4 separate regions of the Homo sapiens genome follow, and regions 2, 3 and 4 are each linked to region 1. The links are contacts of gene promoters, found by promoter capture Hi-C in blood cells and fetal thymus (Javierre and others, 2016). All regions are on one chromosome and are shown on one strand. Each heading gives the region's core, a stretch centred on a gene start or on the middle of the fragment in contact. The rest is flanking DNA. Distances are from core to core; before and after follow the strand shown. Region 1 holds the start of CLECL1 (C-type lectin like 1). Region 2 overlaps LOC102724020 (a long non-coding RNA gene). Region 3 has its middle 2.5 kb from the start of CLEC12B. Region 4 has its middle 8.5 kb from the start of CLEC1B.

Region 1 (3,013 bases), core at 204-2,703:
TTTGACTTCTGGTCATAAGCATGACTATAGGTAGGTAATTTAATCTTCATATAGTTCGTTTTCTCATTTTTAGCATTCTAAGATTGAACTAGATCACATTAAAAGATGTTGCCCCACATCCCTAAACTGGGAAAAGAATAAGGTTTTATTTATAAAAGTTCAAACCATAGACAGAAAGGCAATTAAACCCTGGAATGCGGAATCAAAAATATTGGTTTTGTTGCTTAAACTGAGTAAAATAACCTCTAGAAAAAGAAACTAACTACAGGACATTTTTGAAGCATAGGGGAATGACAGTGCAGTTCTAGTCCATGTTATTTTTCAAATTATGTTTCACTATTTCATAGGAAGTGAAAGTGCCTAAGCTGGAAGAAAAGAAAGCAAGTTAGCCTCTGCTGGGTAAAATAGAGAGGTAAGGTTTAAAATAAGAAACAAGATGCTTTTACAACCAGAAAAGGACACACACTAGATTCCTTTGATAACTATAAACTTTTGAAAATATAAAGAAGAAATACATTCCTTGGAAATACGAACAAAGTAGCAGATTCATTCCACAAGGGCAAATACAAAGGAGGAACTTTAAATTATTTAAAACACCTACATAAACTCTATGCTACAAAAATTCTTACCCTAGAGCAGAGAATGGAAATGTAACAAGACAGAGAAATTTCCTTAATACTTCAAAGAATAGAAAAGACACTGGCTATGAAAATCTATAATTTTTGAGGGGGTTTGGTGATGAAGGCACCATGTTAAGTTTAGGCATATGCTTATCGCCTCTGATTCCAGAAATATTCAATTACCTAGTCATTAATTCTAGACTTTATAAAATTAAATCTAACGTTTCATGTTTTCTTAAGTTTACATTTTTATCCTATTGATATTGTAAAAGAATAAATAACAATATGAGTAAATTGCCACAGGTATTTTTCCCAGTGGAGATGAATTTATCACATTATGTTAAAAGGTCAGATTTGATTGAGAGTGAGCAAAGCTGTGGAGCAGAAAGGCGTGATCCCGCTAGAAGTTGCTGTGTGAATATAAACATTCATCACGAGAAATCAAGAAATAGAAAGGCTATGAAAACAGAAGCAAAGTTCTACATATTAAAACCAAAGTGGCAATTTATTTTATGAACAGACATTTTGCTTCATTAAAAACATTCGCTCTTATTCTTAGCATTCAATGAATTTTGCTTTGAATCCAATCTCCTCTTTTCAGTTTGGCAATTAGATACATAAGAAAGAAATAAAGGAGATAACTAGTAAAATCTTAATTCTCAAAGGCACCCTAAATCCAGCTTACCAGATCTCTGAAGTGGAAACGCGAGTTCTAACGGGGAAGTCCGAACAGTTTTGATGTCAGCGTAGACTACATCTCCAGCCATTGCACAGATCAAAAAGAGAGAGAAGACCACAAATGATGTCCCACTGAAGGGACAATCATATTTCTGCAAAGAAACTTCTGATAAGTAAATTGAGATGGCAAATTTCCTTCTGCTCCCCAAGTGGGTGGTGGACTTCCTCCATGAATAAATGACAAAACCAATGTGTTCAGTCTTACTAATCAAGGTAGCAGATTTCTCGAATACTTGTATGACATGGAAGAAATTACTAACCATACAGTAGGTTCTCGTTTTTCAGTTAGTTTTCTGCCTAAACTTGAAATGCTTTTAACTTTTATTAATACCACAGAAGATATCTCACCATTTTCTCCTATAGACCACTTCCTCTTTTAGTTCAGGCATATATTCTCTGGCGGAAACTCTGAATTTCCAGCATCTTCTCCAAAGTAGGATAGCTATTTGGGAAACAGAACAAGAAAAAGAAGGGATTTTATTACGAAAGTTACAGAAAGGGGCCCTATGTCTTTTATCCTCCTCTCTAAATGCATTGTATTGTCTAGATAATACCTTAAAAATTCTGAAAGCTATTTGCTTTCCTGTATGCTTTATAATATTAACATTAAACTGAGGTAAAACATGAATTATGCAGAGGACTTCTGAACTAAAAAATATATATTTAAGAAACAGAAATAACTCTGTTAAAATAATTCAAGGTAATGACATAAAAGAAAAAAATCTAATTTTAAAATGAGGTGTTCAGAAATTTACTATCGAATACAACATAGCAAACATAGATTTTATCTCCTATTTCTTCTAAAATTCCACTAAAATTGAATTAAGTGAATAAAAATTTGTTAGTCTAAAACAATAACACAAAGGCTCAGGGTCCTATTAGTTGATGAAAAATTTCAACTAATTCCTGGAAAATGGAGAGTAGATGGAGATGTGATCATTGATGAAGAAGTAAAATCAGAGAAAAATGCAGCCAACACCATACAGAGGGAAATAATGGAGGAGAGCCTAGCTACCTGTGAAACCGTCATAGGACATAGAAATGTCAGATATGAAAAATGGCAGGATCCATTAGCTTATGACTAGTAGATTAACTGGAAATCTGCATATGGAAAAACTGGTTTTTTCAATACCCACTCAAGTGCATTCTGCAGAATTAATCTAAACTGCAGTCACCCCATCCCTACCCCTCATCCAAGAAATTTAACTTAGGTTAATTAAATAACTAGAGAACAGATCCTGGCTTTGTGGCATTTAGGGATCCCTCCTATAAAGACCAACTTCTGACCCTGGATGAGGCTTGAGCACCGACCTCTGTCTCTTAAGACTGCATGACACTCTCTCCCTTTTCTGGGCTGTTCCAACTGTTTGTATGTGACTAGACAATACCTACTACATACATGAAAAACTGACTTTTAGAGGTTTTATTATCTGCAGGTGGTTGCATAACCAATAATTTTTTTTTTTTTGAGACGGAGTCTCACTCTGTCACCCAGGCTGGAGTGCAGTGGCGCGATCTCGGCTCACTGCAAGCTCTGCCTCCCGGGTTCATGCCATTCTCCTGCCTCAGCCTCCCGAGTAGCTGGGACTACAGGCGCCCGCCACCACGCCCGGCTAATATTTTGTATTTTTAGTAGAGACGAGTTTCACGGTGGT
Region 2 (3,013 bases), core at 149-2,648, 290 kb after region 1:
GACAAGGATAGGGTCCAGACCCTTTCACCTTTTTGATTCCTTAGCATAGCACTGGAAATTGTAGGGAAACACTAATTGTTACTGTTATAGTTACCAAGGCCATTATTTTCAGTTCTCCAGCTTTCTTTGTTTCTAGACAGAATTTGTTTCTGAGAAAAATTACTCTCTATGGGTGAATTGATGTTGGCTTCACCAATCTTGTCCAGCCCATATGATCTGTAAGTTGTATTTTGAGTAGAGTAATTTCTAGGGGGCTCCATTCTCTCTTGTTCTTCAAGTACTGACCTTCAATTTCCAGTGCAAGAAGACAGTATTTGATTGTTTCTGTCTTTATTTTGAAGCTCTTTTGTGTCTAAATAGGACAAGTTGGGAAGGAATACCTCTCAAAACTTACAGAGCCAAAAAATGCATCAAGGAGGGTGGGAAATGAGTCCCAGGAAGGTGAATTGGACTGAAAACCAGATTTCTGGTCTCTCTTTATCTGGGTCTACCAAATGCACAACTGATATTTCGACAGGTGCGACTGGCAGCTGCAAATTATTCACTTATTTAACAATAGATTTTGTGTGTGTGTCAACCAAGTGCTAGTCGATATGCAAACCCTTGGGATAGATATGAAGATCAGCATGACAGGACCCTTAACCACAATAAGCTCAAAGCTAGGGGCAAAGGGGCCTACAATTTTTAAGATGGCCCTAACATGGCAGGAACTTGACAAATTCAATATGTGATCTCATCTGAGATCATTCCATACATGTGGAAACTAAAGCTTGATTTAGAACAAAGCTTGGCTAAGGTTTTACAGCCGGAAAGGGTGAAGTTAGGTTCTGAACCAGGTCCAATACATGCCAGAGCCCTATTATCTTTTCACAGAATCATAGCTGTGAGACAATGCAATGCAACAGAATATAGATTTATTATATATAATAAATAATAGATTTCAGCATGCTATCAGAACACAGAAGATGGTATGCAATGACACTTCCCATAAATGGTGACCCCACCCCAGGTGTCATCTTGTTTTAAGTATACATTTTATTACTTTTCCTAATTAAATCCGTCCTCAGCAATTTTCTTGCCTTATGTATTGCTATCTCCCCCCATAGCCCCTGTTGCTGGTCTGATGTTGACTGATTTGAAGCCACTAGGCATGCCATCCCTACTTGCCTGCCTCATTCATAAACATTTCTTCTTTAAAAACCACTTTATTGGGTATAATTGACATGTAAAAGCTGTACATACGTAATATATGCAACTTAATATTTGTAGATAAGTATACACACATGAATAAACCATCACCACAATGTATACCATAAACATAGGCATTATCTTGAAAAGTCCTCCCACCCTCTTTATTGTTAATATTTTTGTGTGATAAAAACACAACGTAAGATTTACACTCTTAGAAAATTCTAAATATACAATATAGTATTGTTGTCTATAGGCACTACGCTGTACAGTAGATCTGTAGGACTTATTCATCTTGTGTAACTGAACTTTCTACCCTTTGGCTAATACCTCCTCATTTCCCTCTCCTGTAACCCCTGGCAACCACCATTCTACTATCTGCTTCTATGAGTTTGGTTATTTGAAGTTCCTCATATAAATGGTATCATGCAGCATTTGTCCTTCTGTATCTGGCTTGTTTCACTTAGCATAACATCCTCCGTATTTATTCATGTTGCTGCAATGGCAGGATTTCTTTCTTTTTTAAGGCTAAATAATATTCCATGGCATGTACCATATGACCTAGCAATCCCATGACTGGGTATATATCCAAAGAAATTGAAATTGCAATTTCAAAGAGATGCCTGAACTCCTATGTTTATTGCAGCACTGTACACAATAGCCAACACACGAAAGCAACCTCAATGTCCATTGACATGTGAATAGAATAAAAATAAAATGTGGCATATTCATTTTATTAATTTAAACTATTTGTTTCTAAGAACTTTATATTTTAGGTTGTTAGTTAGAAATGAACAAAATAAACGCTTTTATTGCTCTATGAAAGCTTGATTCCTCAGATCTAGGCCCCCATTTGTGGTATATTGCACATTTGAATTTATCATAGGAGCAAAAGAAAGTTGTATATGTTGCAGGCTATGTTTACATGACTATGTTACAGAATTAACATTTATCTTTATTTCTTTCCTATATTCCTGTTAGAAGACAATAGGATTATAATTCAGTTGACAGAAATGTAGCTTATGGCAGTCCTTAAGTCTGTGTCTTAACTTTGGGAATTTTGGAGGCTGGTGAAGTATAAGTATAGCTTTTCCTCTGGCTCTTTTGCTAGAAGAGAAAGCAGACTTTAAGAGAAAATTATTGCAGCACTATTTACAATAGCAAAACTTTGGAACCAACCCAAATGTCCACCAATGGTAGACTGGGTAAAGAAAATGTGGCACATATACACCATGGAATACTATGCAGCCATAAAAAAGAATAAGTTCATGTCCTTTGCAGGGACATGGACGAAGCTGGAAACTATCATTCTCAGCAAACTAACACAGGAACTGAAAAGCAAACACTGCATATTCTCACTCATAAGTGGGAGTTGAACAATGAGAATACATGGACACAGGGAGGGGAACATCACACACTGGGGCCTGTTGAGGGGATGAGGGGCAAGGGGAGGGAGAGCATTAGGACAAATACCTAATGCATGCGGGGCTTAAAACCTAGATGACAGGTTGATAGGTGCAGCAAACCACCATGGCACATGTATACCTATGTAACAAACCTGCAGGTTCTGCACATGTATCCCAGGACTTAAAGTAAATAAAAAATTTAAAAAGAGAAAATTATAGATTCGCATAGCTGATATGGTTTGGCTGTGTCCCCATCCAAATCTCATCTTGAATTATAGCTCCCAGAATCTCCACGTGTCATGGGAAGGACCTGGTGAGAGGTAATAGAATCATGGGGGCGAGTTTTTTCTGTGCTGTTCTCCTGATAGTGAATAAGTCTCATGAGTTCTGATGGTTTTACAAAGGAGAGTTCCCCTGCC
Region 3 (3,013 bases), core at 187-2,686, 270 kb after region 1:
ATCAGTTATTTAAAATTCTGTTTATACGATGTGTAAGATGAATCCTGAGAACTAGCCATTGGATGTGTTTATACTGAGGTAATGTTGACTTTAGCAGGAGTGTTTTTTAGAAATAGTGAAAGAAGGGCCAGGCGTGGTGGCTCACGCCTGTAATCTCAGCACTTTGGGAGGCCGAGGGGGACAGATCACGAGGTCAGGAGATCGAGACCATCCTGGCTAACACGGTGAAACCCCGTCTCTACTAAAAATACAAAAAATTAGCCGGGCGGGGTGGCAGGCGCCTGTAGTCCCAGTTACTCTGGAGGCTGAGGCAGGGGAATGGCATGAACCTGGGAGGCGGAGCTTGCAGTGAGCCGAGATCGCGCCACTGCACTCCAGCCTGGGCAACAGAGCTAGACTCTGTCTCAATAAAAAAAAAGAAAGAATAAAAATAAAAAAAGAAAAAAAAGAAATAGTGAAGGAAAAAGCCTAATTAGAATAGGTTTGGGAAGATCATAGAGAAATTTTTGAACCCATTTGTTGTTAAGAAAATTAGAGAAATGGAGTGATCATGTGTATGGTGTTACGGTGAACAAAAGATGGCTTCTGCTTGTTTTAATATAGGAGATATTATATCATCTTTGGAAGTGAACATAAGTGAACAAGTAGAGATGAAAAAAATGGAAAAATTGATAGAAAGAGAAAAAGAAGGAAAATTACAAGCTTGAAATCTTTAAGGAGATAGGTGGATGGATTTTAATATACAGATGGAGATTGATCTTAGATGAGTAGTACAATTCAACCACTGTTGAAAAGAATACTACCTCATATACTGATGTAGCTGTTTTGGTATATTTGACTAGTGAAACAGAGAAAACTTCTTTCTGAATTTCTTTTTTTTCTTAAGATAATGTTAATGGAAAAGCCAGGTTATCCGTTTAGTTTGTAGAAAGAGAAGACAGAAAGAAATTTGAGAGTCTGAGAAAGAAAAAGAGATTGGGAATAATCTTTTAGGAGATTTGCAGAACAGATTGATTAGTAAGAGTGCTGAGAAGTTACATTTCAAAAACGTAAGATAAAACCAGTTAATATGATCACATTCAGCTACTTGAATGTATGCACAGAGTAGGTAGGGTTGGATTTAAACAAGCTGCATTTTCTAGATGCTTATGATGAATGAAGAGGTAAGCAAGGAAGTTGTAGCTGTGGGTAAGAAAACGATTTTTATAATTGGCCCTGGTAAGTGGTGCATGCTGGGTATAATAGGAAATGAGACATGAGGGATTGACAACAATGAGAAGTTGGCATGGTCAGTGAAGTTGCTATCTCAGTGGGCACTGAAATGCTGTAGAGTGTAGAATACCCAGAGAGAGTGGGCTGGAAACATAGGAGGTGGAGGTCAGAGAGTGAAATATCTGAAACAGATCATGGAAGAATTTCTCATATTGGAAATGAAATTGTCTGCACTCTAGTGCAGTGCTGTTCAATAGCCACGTTGCTAATAATGGAAATGTTATTTACCTGCACTGTCCAATTGCATAGCCAATGCCACCTGTGGCTGTTAAGTACCTGAAGTATGACTAGTGTGACCTAGGAAATAAATTTTAAATTTAATTTAATTTTAATTAATTTAAGTTTAAATAGCAATTATATGCCTAGTGATTACTACGGTGAATAGCCTAGCTCTAAACTAGGATCATCTAGTGGGTGACTGATTTTTGTGTGTGAGCAACTGATTTCTGAGTGTGGGTAAGGTTATTGGAGGCAAATTCAAGAACTGAGAGCCCATAGTATTGGAATTATCACCTACCTGAATGTCGAAATCACATGATAATCATGATAGGAGTAGAGATCAATAAGATTTAAGATAGTTGAAAAAATAATGAAGAAATAAGGAGAATTTGGTAAATGACTGCAACAAAGTGAGTTTTTAAATAGTGTAACTGATAAAATAAGCTACAGAAATGCTGTAAGTTTTTAAGGGAGAAAAGTATATAAAGAAATGTCTAAATTAATATGATCATACACTAATAATGATAGATGATATAGCTTTTTGGATCATAATAATAGAAAGTATGTGAGAAGTGTTATCAATCTTCTCTTAGAAATAATTAGGAATCAGGTGACATTCTTCATCATTGTTCAAGCTAAGCATCATTTCATGGATAGTGAGAAGTTAATACTTTGTTAGGAAGCTTTAAGGTATGTGAAAGAATTAAGGAAATGAGGATGAAAACCCAGTTTTTGCAAAATCTGGTGAAAGTCATGAGACGTGAGGCCAGCCAGACTTCCTGAATCGAGTGGGGACTCAGGGAACTTTCCTGTCTTACAAGAGGATTGTAAAACGCACCAATCAGTGCCACGTAAAACGCACCGATCAGCGCTCTGTAAAACGCACCAATCAGCAGGATTCTAAAAGTAGCCAATTGCGGTGAGGATTGAAAAAAGGTCAGTCTGATACGACAGAAACGGAACATGGAGGGGACAGTAAGGAAATAAAAGCTAGCCACCCCAGCCAGCAGCAGCAACCCGCTTGGGACCCCTTCCATGCTGTGGAAGGTTTGTCATCCTGCTCTTCACAATAAACCTTGCTACCACTCAGTCTTTGGGTCCGTGCCATCTTTAAGAGGTGTAACCCTCACCGCAAAGGTCCGCGGCTTCATTTTTGAAGTCAGCGAGACCAGGAACCCACCGGCAGGAACCAACTCCGGACACGGACCAGAACAGAGATAGAAAACCATTCTTAATTTCTTATTTTTGTAATCATCTATTTAAACTGGTCCTCATGTCAATGGTCTCTGCCTTTTCTGAATTCAACTAGAATAGTAAACATAAGCATAGATTTATTATTTGTTTCAATATTTTTGATAGTGGAGTTTTATTGATATATGACTTAGAGCCTCCAAACATTTTTTTGATTATTTCATCAATTTGAAAAAAAAAAAAACAAAAAACATGAACAAGTAACATATGTATATTTAGGTGTTTAGAGATCATGCACAGCGTTCCTAAAGAGAAAGTTTTTACATTGCCT
Region 4 (3,013 bases), core at 365-2,864, 260 kb after region 1:
TCACTCATAGGTGGGAATTGAACAATGAGAACACCTGGACACAGGAAGGGGAACATCACACACCGGGGCCTGTTGTGGGATGGGGGGAGGGGGGAGGGATAGCATTAGGAGATACACCTAATGTTAAATGACGAGTTAATGGGTGCAGCACACCAACATGGCACATGTATAAATATGTAACTAACCTGCACGTTGTGCACATGTACCCTAAAACTTAAAGTATAATAATAAAAAAAAAGAAATTACAAGTGCTGCTCCAATGAACACACAAATAGTAAGAAAACAAGATAGCCTTATTGCTGATATGGAGAAAGTTTGGTGGTCTGGATACAAGACGAAACCAATCACAACGTTCTCTTAAGTCAAAGCCTAATCCAGAGCAAGGCCCTAACTCTTGTCAATTCTGTGATGGGTGAGAGAGGTGAAGAAGCTACAGAAGAAATGTTGGAAGCTAGCAGAGGTTGGTTCATCAGGTTTAAGGAAAGAAGCCTTCTCTCTAACATAAAAATGAAAGATGAAGCAGCAAGTTGTGATGTAGAAACTGGAGCAAGTTATCCAGAAGATATAGCTAAGATAGCTGAAGGTGTCTAGATGAAACAGCTTTGTATTGGAAAGACATGTCATCTAGGATTTTTATACCTAGAGAGGAAAAGTCAATGGCTGGCTTGAAAGCTTCAAAGGACAAGCTGACTCTCTTGTTAGGGACTAATGCAGCTGATGACTTTAAGTTAAAGCCAGTAGTCTTTTATCATTTCAAACGTCCTAGGGACCTTAATAATTATGCTAAATGTACCTGCCAATGCTCTATGAATGAAACAATGACGTCTAGATGAAAGCACATTTGTTTATAGCATTGTTTACTGAGTATTTTAAGCCCATTGTTGAGAAACACTGCTCAGAAAAAAAAAAGGTCTTTTTTTCAAAATATTACAGCTCATTGACAATGCACCTAGTCACCCAAGAGCTCTTATAGACATGTACCGGGAGGTTAATGTTTTCAGTCCTGCTAACACAGCATCCTTTTCTGCAACCAACAAATCAAGGAGTAATTTTGACTTTCAAGTTTTATTCTTTAAGAAATACACATCATAAGGCTATAACTCCCACAGATACTGATTCTTCTTATATATCAGAGCAAAGTAAATTGAAAACCACCTGGAGACAACTTACCATTCTAGATGCCATTAAAAAGATTTGTGATTCATGGAAGGAAGACAAAGTGTCAACATTAACAGACACTTGGAAGAAGTTGAATCAAACCCTCATGGATAACTTGCAGGCGTTCAAGACTTCAGTGGTGGAAGTAACTGCAGATGTGGTGGAAATAGCAAGAGAACTAGAACTGGAAGTGGAGCCTGAAGATGTGGCTGAATTGATGCAATTTTATCAGGAAACTTTAACAAATGAGGAGTTGCTTTTTATGGATGAGCAAAGAAAATGGTTCTTGAGACAAATATTATTCCTGGTGAACATGCTGTGAACATTGTTGAAATGCTAATAAAGTATTCTGAATATTGCATAAACTTAGTTGATAAAGCAGTAGCAGGATTTGAGAGGACTGACTTCAATTTTGAAAGAAGTTTACGATGAGTAAAATGCTATTTAACAGCATCGCATTCTACAGATAAAAATTTCATAAAAGGAAGACTAAATTGATGCTACAAACTTCACCATTGTCTTATTTTAAAAATAGCCACATCTACCCCATCCTTCAGCAACCACTGCTGTGATCCATCAGCAGCCATCAACATCAAGGCAAGACGCTACACCAGCAAAAAGATTTTCACTCACTAAAGACTCAAATAATCAGCATTTTTAGCAATAAACTATTTTTAATAAAACTATGTACATTTTCCAGACATAATGCTGTTGTATACTTAATAGAAGACGTTGTAGCTCAAACATAACTTTTACACGAATTGGGAAAGCAAATAATTAATGTGACTCACTTTATTGCAATAATTGCTTTATTGTGGTGGTCTGGAACTGAACCCACAATATTTCCGAGGCATGCCTGTAAGTTAGTTTTAAATTGAAGAAGACAGAAGTCAAATTTTGCTGGAGTTCACTTAGATGACATGTAGAAGATTTAGTATTTGAAATGAGGTGGTCTGATCTGTGCTACTAACGTTTGTGCTATTTTGATTTTATGTATAAGATACTTTAGATATGAATACCAGAAAAAGAATCACAGTGATTGGCCTACATTTTTAATTGTATTGTTGCCATGCACTAAGATATTATTCTTCTAAGTTTATGTGTGCTATAGGGATGTATACACATATGTTTTTCCATTTTAGGGAGATGAAACAAAGTTGAGTTGCTAATTTTGTACAGTTTTCTGAATTATTGGTTCCTATTTAGTTTCTCTAAATAGACAATTCAAAATAAAAAACATACTGATACCATCACCCAAATCCAAGATCTCCAGACATTTGAAGTAACAAGTAAAATTTGAGGTATTTCTATTATTTTTCCTAAGCCCTCCAAATCTGCTTAATTATTGATAGGCTAGAAAAAAGATAAAGATTCAAGTGTCTTTCAGTGTTAGCGCACAAAGCTTTAAGAGTAACACATATTTATTGAGTATGTATTACATACTTGGTATTCTGATCGATACTTTATATAATCATATTAAATGAGCTTCACAATTAACTTATGAGCAAGGTAATAATATTAAACCCATTTCAAGGTGAGAACATTACTTATCCAAAGCCAGATAGAGAGTAAGTTCTAAAGTAGTGATATTTCTCTAACTGTATTAAAGACTACTTGTATGAGAATTGTGTCGTGATGCTGGTAAAAACCCAGGTCTCTGTGTCTCCTCAGTCTTCCCACTGAGTAACATCAGCATTTGAGTTTCCTATTTGGTTTCTCTATGTTTTAACCAAAACCTCCGTTGAGATGTTTGAGAATCATGTTCGTAAATGGTAGCCACTAGTTAAAAAAGGGAAGCTGTGGGAAAGAAATGCAATTTTTTCCTATTATCCTGTAAAAGGGTGCCTTTCCACAT

What was found. The method cuts DNA at HindIII sites, captures the fragments that hold promoters and counts their contacts. A CHiCAGO score of 5 or more calls a contact.
Region 2: a contact is called between a fragment that was not itself captured here and the fragment with the promoter of CLECL1 in region 1, in 3 of 17 cell types (megakaryocytes, M2 macrophages and M0 macrophages). The highest score is 6.7, in megakaryocytes.
Region 3: a contact is called between a fragment that was not itself captured here and the fragment with the promoter of CLECL1 in region 1, in 2 of 17 cell types (M1 macrophages and M2 macrophages). The highest score is 5.7, in M1 macrophages.
Region 4: a contact is called between a fragment that was not itself captured here and the fragment with the promoter of CLECL1 in region 1, in 1 of 17 cell types (monocytes). The highest score is 5.0, in monocytes.

The regions. Positions count from the first base shown.
Region 1 is chr12:9,731,644-9,734,656 of GRCh38, forward strand. CLECL1 (C-type lectin like 1) reads right to left here and starts at 1,454. Exons shown (of 2, transcript NM_001441815.1): 1 at 1,306-1,454. The coding sequence starts at 1,387. The HindIII fragment of the contact is 6,540 bases long and covers 1-3,013 here.
Region 2 is chr12:10,023,909-10,026,921 of GRCh38, forward strand. The region is part of intron 2 of LOC102724020 (a long non-coding RNA gene); the gene reads right to left. Among named protein-coding and RNA genes, the nearest start is that of CLEC9A, 5.3 kb to the right of the region's middle. The HindIII fragment of the contact is 1,228 bases long and covers 785-2,012 here.
Region 3 is chr12:10,006,649-10,009,661 of GRCh38, forward strand. It overlaps a transcript of CLEC12B not described here. Among named protein-coding and RNA genes, the nearest start is that of CLEC12B, 2.5 kb to the right of the region's middle. The HindIII fragment of the contact is 1,472 bases long and covers 701-2,172 here.
Region 4 is chr12:9,989,138-9,992,150 of GRCh38, forward strand. It overlaps a transcript of CLEC12A not described here. Among named protein-coding and RNA genes, the nearest start is that of CLEC1B, 8.5 kb to the right of the region's middle. The HindIII fragment of the contact is 1,888 bases long and covers 671-2,558 here.